2 separate regions of the Homo sapiens genome follow, and region 1 is linked to region 2. Evidence: promoter capture Hi-C in human tissues and cell types (Jung and others, 2019). All regions are on one chromosome and are shown on one strand. The core of a region is centred on a gene start or on the middle of the fragment in contact, and the rest is flanking DNA. Distances in the headings are between cores, read along the strand shown. Region 1 overlaps BCL2 (BCL2 apoptosis regulator). Region 2 holds the start of BCL2 (BCL2 apoptosis regulator).

What was found. Contacts are between HindIII fragments. The study calls those that stand out against the background at their distance.
Region 1: a fragment that was not itself captured here is called in contact with the fragment with the promoter of BCL2 in region 2 in 1 of the 25 tissues and cell types used here (hippocampus).

The regions. Positions count from the first base shown.
Region 1 is chr18:63,284,904-63,288,129 of GRCh38, reverse strand. The region is part of intron 2 of BCL2 (BCL2 apoptosis regulator); the gene reads left to right. Among named protein-coding and RNA genes, the nearest start is that of BCL2, 33 kb to the left of the region's middle. The HindIII fragment of the contact is 3,059 bases long and covers 1-2,795 here.
Region 2 is chr18:63,318,458-63,321,845 of GRCh38, reverse strand. BCL2 (BCL2 apoptosis regulator) reads left to right here and starts at 2,077. Exons shown (of 3, transcript NM_000633.3): 1 at 2,077-2,672; 2 at 2,894-3,388. The coding sequence starts at 3,180. RefSeq lists an enhancer at 220-309 and silencers at 1,201-1,270, 1,301-1,510, 1,671-1,860, 3,216-3,388. The HindIII fragment of the contact is 10,586 bases long and covers 1-3,388 here.

The sequences.
Region 1 (3,226 bases), core at 17-2,516, 33 kb after region 2:
ACCCAACAATTTTGTTTTCAAATTCCTAAAAACTAAAAAAAGAAATCTTGGTGACATAAATGTTCCAAAATCAAAATGTCCAAAATGAACTCATCAACTTCCTCCTCTCGCCTGCTCATCTATGTCTGTTCTGTCTGCTTAATGATATCACTGTCCACCCAGACAGAGCCCCAAACTCTTAAATCATTTTCAACTTGGTTTTCTCATCTGTGAGATAGAGCTTTCCTGGATCATCTCTTAAGATTCTTTCCAGCCCTGAAAGTCTGCATATCTGAGTTCTTCACTCATACTCCCCACATATCTGAATCCTGCTTCTAAAAGTCTCTCTTCCCTAGATCTCTGGTTTTTAGGTTTTTAAAATTATTTTATTATTTTTTTATCCTGCTGCTGCTGCTGCTCTAATTCAACCTCTCATTCCTTCTTGCATATGCTGTAACCTCCTAGCCAGTCTTCCTGTCATTTCAAAAATTATTCTTAAGTTTACCTACAGTAAAATTCATCATTTTTGTGTAGCTTTGTGGGTTTTGATAAATGAACAGAGAGGTAACCACTACTCTAATCAGTATACAGAACAGGTCAGTCACCCCCCAAACATATTTCATGATGAGAGTTTGTACTCAAACTGCCCGCCACCCCCTAACCCTTAGCCCTGGCAACTTCTCTTCTCTTCTATATCCCTAGAGTTTTGTATTTTCCAAAATGTCATAGATTGGTATCCTTCTCTTTCAGCACCTGTTCCCAGCCCATCCATCCTCTTCGTCAATGCCATTTATCTTCCTAAAACATCTCTGTTGAGCACCTTGAGAAACACTTAGTTTCTCCAAGCTTCAGTTTCCTTGTTAGAATGTGACCCAGCCAGAGTATAAAATAAGGAGCATACAGAATTCTAATACTTTCTAAGGAGGTTGGTTCCTGAGGAGGACCCTTCATCTTGCTAACTGGGGCAACTGATGGGCAGATCAGAGAAGCAGGAAGTCACTCTGAGTAAGAAATGGTGGCCTAGAGCTCTTGTGAGAAAAGGGATCCAAGAAGGGGGTAGTAGAGAGAGAAGTGAGAGACGGAGAAAAGAGAACAACTGCCACAAGAAGCAAAACGCTGGAGAGGGACAGATGTCTACAGAAGATGTTTTGGGACAGTTTTGCTGTTGAATGAGTGCCAGTATCCTTCCATAGTGGCCTCGGGAGACCTGTAGTTCAGACCCGTGTTGTAGGAGGTGTCTTTTGAATGGGTCTTATTTTGAGGAGGGACCCAGGAGACCCAGATCTGCAATGGGGATAATGACATCTGCTCCATGCAATCATCATGTGGGGATCATGGGGTAGCAAGATAGGACCCTGCCTGGCAGAGATTGGGCACCAAGGACTCCCTTCCCACCATCCTGTGCCATCTCTGCCTTCTCTCCTTACTTCTTGCCTCTCACCTGGAAACTGCCGCAAACCAAATCCTCCTACCTCCCCTTCAATGACCTTCAGAATGCCAGCCCTGAAGGTTGGCTCAGAGGTCATTGTATACCAAGCTACAGAGTTTGGTGTACAGCTGACCTTCAGGGCTGGCACCAGCCCACTTTCCAGTCTACCTCCCATTAAAGTTCTCTGTCCTCCTTACTTTCTGCTCCCAATCCTCGCCCCTACTCCTGCCCTAATCTTACGTCCCAGCTACGTTCAACTCCTTTGTTGAACCCTCCTGCCTCCCCTTCAATGAAAATTAACCTATCCTTTGTCTACATTCATTTCATGTTTATTCATTTTGTGTCTACATCCATTTTCTGTGTATATATACAATAGGTTTTGTATCATAATTATTCATGTCTGTTTGGACACCCCTGCCCCCAACTGTGTAAAAGGTGCTCAATTCATATTTGGTTAAATGAAATGAATTCCTAAATAATCACAGCAAGTTTGAACCTAGTGAAGGAAGTGTTAAGGCATTTCTTTTACATTATGCTCTCATTTTAATGTACAAGTAGCATGCCAGCTATGGGGCAGGTTTTACTCTTCCAGATTTCTTGTGGTTGTCAATGCATCAGGCAGCCTGTTTCCAAACAGCTGCCATATGGCCAAAGCTCCTCAAGTGACCCTTTTATGTGTATAAGAGCAGGACATAGTTCAGATATACCCAGGAGAAGTAAGGGCATTGAAAACCTCCCAGGCTGCTGTTGCAGAAAGGACAGGGAGAATGCCACTACCTGGAGGTGGGAAACTGGACGTTGCTATACCTGCCCCTCCATCACCATCACATAGTTTGTGTGCTGTCAAATTTAAGTTGCCAACACAAGCCATGGACCACAAAGACATGCTTGCTAAATCAAGTTGAGTGAGATGCACTTCTAGTACTTTCCAAACCCATGCTGAGATGCAGAACCCCCAGCCCCATGCAGACAGATTTGCCCTGCATGGAAACGGTGCACCCTCTCCCGCTACACACTCAGAGATGAGAGATGAGCCTGTTTGTGAAACCAAACTCAGGATTCTGTTTTTGTGTAAGAACCGTACCACATGGCTGACATATGTTCAGTCCATGGCTGGCAGAAGCCTCCTGAACACATCCCCCATCCAGTACCTCCCCGGCAGTGACCCATCTCATATTTGCATATGTTCCCCTGTCACAAGATTGTGGGGAGGGTGCAGTTTGCAGCTGACTCCTTACCTAGCTACAGCTCCAACTAAGGGCGTGCATTCTTGGGGAGATGTTGGGAGCATCACAAGGTCCCCTTCCGTTCCCAGAACTCAGTTTCAGAGGTCAGCCAGAAAGAGAATTCCAGAGGTCAGCCAGAGAGAGAAGGTAGCAAGGACAGAGCCCCTACTGACATTTTTCTTCCCACCCATCCCATCTCCAGGGCAATGGTCTTCAGCAGGGAACAACGGGCCCTCATTCCCTGCCAGGGGAGCTGAGTACACACAAACTGCTGGATGGGCGAGAAGTTCCCCCAGTGATCTTTATTTTTCCGTTTAGAAAGAATCCTTATTCCAGCCCCTTCTCTCCAGCTGCTGCGTGTGAGCCTGTCTCTGTCTCTTGGGTGGTGCAGCTGCAGGTGAGCCAGCTGTGGGCGGCCCTGAAGGACAGCGAGGTAGGGAGCCTGGTTGTGAGGTCTCTGCTCCCTGGGGATGCTCTGCAGCCTTTTGCCTGCAGCAAGTCTGAAACCTTCCATGCCTGACTCCCCCTTTCCATTTTTTTCCTGGCGTCTGCCCTTGCTGGAGTGGAGCATGGTGGGAGCCAGCCCCTGGAG
Region 2 (3,388 bases), core at 828-3,327:
TCAGGAGTTCGAGACCAGCCTGGCCAGTATGGCGAAACCCCGTCTCTACTAAAAATACAAAAATTAGCAGAGCGTAGTGGCGTGCACGTGTAATCCCAGCTACTCAGGAGGCTGAGGCAGAATTGCTTGAGCCTGGGAGGCAGAGGTTGCAGTGAGCTGAGATCGCACCACTGCACACCAGCCTCCAAGATACAACAGAGCAAGACTCTGTCTCAAAAAAAAAAAAAAAGTCATAGCATATTTGTACACATTGTAGTACTCATTTGTCATCTTTCTTGACCCCAATAATCCAGTGTCCCTATATATTTGCACTCGAGCCCTATTAAGTAAGCCGCTGTGCTTCTAGAAGACCTTTTTCTTTTCTTGGTGCTTTGTCAAAGACTCTTGGAGATAAAAATACACACGTGCAACTTGTTTGTCCTCTTGTCCTTTTTTGCTAGGGGCTATTCATGCTGATTAATTTAAAACTGTCTGCTTGCGCGTACACACGTCTGCGAGTGTGAATGTGTATGTGTGTATCTATGTACCTCATTTGAGAAAGTGCGGCCAACTAGGATTGGCTACGAGGCAAAGGTGGAGACCTTTAGGAGCCCACCCACCCCAGCGTTAGGACGGTGGGCCTGAAAGTTACTATATGGAAGTCCTCATCGTGTAGCACTAAACCAGTGTAAAAGGTGTTAGGGACAGAGGGAAAACATTGACTTAAACTGTCGTAAAGCCCTTGATAAACCCCTTCCCTGGAGCGCTGAGTTCTGCATGGCCTGGGCCACGGACTAGGTGTTCAGGTGGACACGGGCGGGGATGCGCGTGCGTGTGTAGTGCGCGGACACCTAGGAAGCTACTTGAAAGTAAACACCACGCTCGGGGCGTCCCTAGACATTGCTTAAAACGTGCAGAGTCACCTGTCTTCACAGCAGGGCAGCGCTGAGGTCCCACTGCTGGGGGCGGTGGGGGGCGGCATTGGCCTGGGTCTTCCCCCGGCGGCCGAGCGCCGGTAACACAACGTGTGTGTGTGTAGGCGCGTGTACACACTCTCATACACGGCTAGAAAGGGTCCAGGCGACACACACACTCCCACATACACGGCTAGAAAAGGTCCAGGCGAGACACACACACACACACACACACACACACACACTCCACACACACTCACACGGCCAGAAAGGGTCCAGGCGGTTCCCGGCGCTTTTCCAGCCCTTGTTTTCATGGCGCACCCTCCCGCCAGCCGCCCCCCTCCGCACTCCGTCGTCCGCCCGGCCCGGCCGCGTGCGGTTCCCCGGGAGCCCCCACCCCGTCGCGGACCCCAGCGACCACCAAGTCCGCACGCGGCCTGCCGCAGGCCTGAGCAGAAGGCCCCGCGCACACCCACCGCGCCGCGGCCGCGCGGGAGGCCTGTGCCGCCCGCGCCACCCACTGGCCGGGCCCCGCGGGCGCAGCGGAGCGGGCGGGTGGCCGGCCCGGACGCGCCCTCCCCGGCCGCGGCCCCGCGCGCCATGTGCCCCCGGCGGGACGCGCCACTCCCGGGCCTGCCGCGGCGCCTTTAACCCGGGCCAGGGAGCGGGGCGGAGGGGGCGGTCGGGTGGCTCAGAGGAGGGCTCTTTCTTTCTTCTTTTTTTGAATGAACCGTGTGACGTTACGCACAGGAAACCGGTCGGGCTGTGCAGAGAATGAAGTAAGAGGACAGGCACCACAGCCCCGCTCCCGCCCCCTTCCTCCCGCGCCCGCCCCTCCGCGCCGCCTGCCCGCCCGCCCGCCGCGCTCCCGCCCGCCGCTCTCCGTGGCCCCGCCGCGCTGCCGCCGCCGCCGCTGCCAGCGAAGGTGCCGGGGCTCCGGGCCCTCCCTGCCGGCGGCCGTCAGCGCTCGGAGCGGGCTGCGCGGCGGGAGCTCCGGGAGGCGGCCGTAGCCAGCGCCGCCGCGCAGGACCAGGAGGAGGAGAAAGGGTGCGCAGCCCGGAGGCGGGGTGCGCCGGTGGGGTGCAGCGGAAGAGGGGGTCCAGGGGGGAGAACTTCGTAGCAGTCATCCTTTTTAGGAAAAGAGGGAAAAAATAAAACCCTCCCCCACCACCTCCTTCTCCCCACCCCTCGCCGCACCACACACAGCGCGGGCTTCTAGCGCTCGGCACCGGCGGGCCAGGCGCGTCCTGCCTTCATTTATCCAGCAGCTTTTCGGAAAATGCATTTGCTGTTCGGAGTTTAATCAGAAGAGGATTCCTGCCTCCGTCCCCGGCTCCTTCATCGTCCCCTCTCCCCTGTCTCTCTCCTGGGGAGGCGTGAAGCGGTCCCGTGGATAGAGATTCATGCCTGTGCCCGCGCGTGTGTGCGCGCGTGTAAATTGCCGAGAAGGGGAAAACATCACAGGACTTCTGCGAATACCGGACTGAAAATTGTAATTCATCTGCCGCCGCCGCTGCCTTTTTTTTTTCTCGAGCTCTTGAGATCTCCGGTTGGGATTCCTGCGGATTGACATTTCTGTGAAGCAGAAGTCTGGGAATCGATCTGGAAATCCTCCTAATTTTTACTCCCTCTCCCCGCGACTCCTGATTCATTGGGAAGTTTCAAATCAGCTATAACTGGAGAGTGCTGAAGATTGATGGGATCGTTGCCTTATGCATTTGTTTTGGTTTTACAAAAAGGAAACTTGACAGAGGATCATGCTGTACTTAAAAAATACAAGTAAGTTCTCTGCACAGGAAATTGGTTTAATGTAACTTTCAATGGAAACCTTTGAGATTTTTTACTTAAAGTGCATTCGAGTAAATTTAATTTCCAGGCAGCTTAATACATTCTTTTTAGCCGTGTTACTTGTAGTGTGTATGCCCTGCTTTCACTCAGTGTGTACAGGGAAACGCACCTGATTTTTTACTTATTAGTTTGTTTTTTCTTTAACCTTTCAGCATCACAGAGGAAGTAGACTGATATTAACAATACTTACTAATAATAACGTGCCTCATGAAATAAAGATCCGAAAGGAATTGGAATAAAAATTTCCTGCATCTCATGCCAAGGGGGAAACACCAGAATCAAGTGTTCCGCGTGATTGAAGACACCCCCTCGTCCAAGAATGCAAAGCACATCCAATAAAATAGCTGGATTATAACTCCTCTTCTTTCTCTGGGGGCCGTGGGGTGGGAGCTGGGGCGAGAGGTGCCGTTGGCCCCCGTTGCTTTTCCTCTGGGAAGGATGGCGCACGCTGGGAGAACAGGGTACGATAACCGGGAGATAGTGATGAAGTACATCCATTATAAGCTGTCGCAGAGGGGCTACGAGTGGGATGCGGGAGATGTGGGCGCCGCGCCCCCGGGGGCCGCCCCCGCACCGGGCATCTTCTCCTCCCAGCCCGGGCACACGCCCCATCCAGCCGCATCCCGGGACCCGGTCGCCAGGACCTC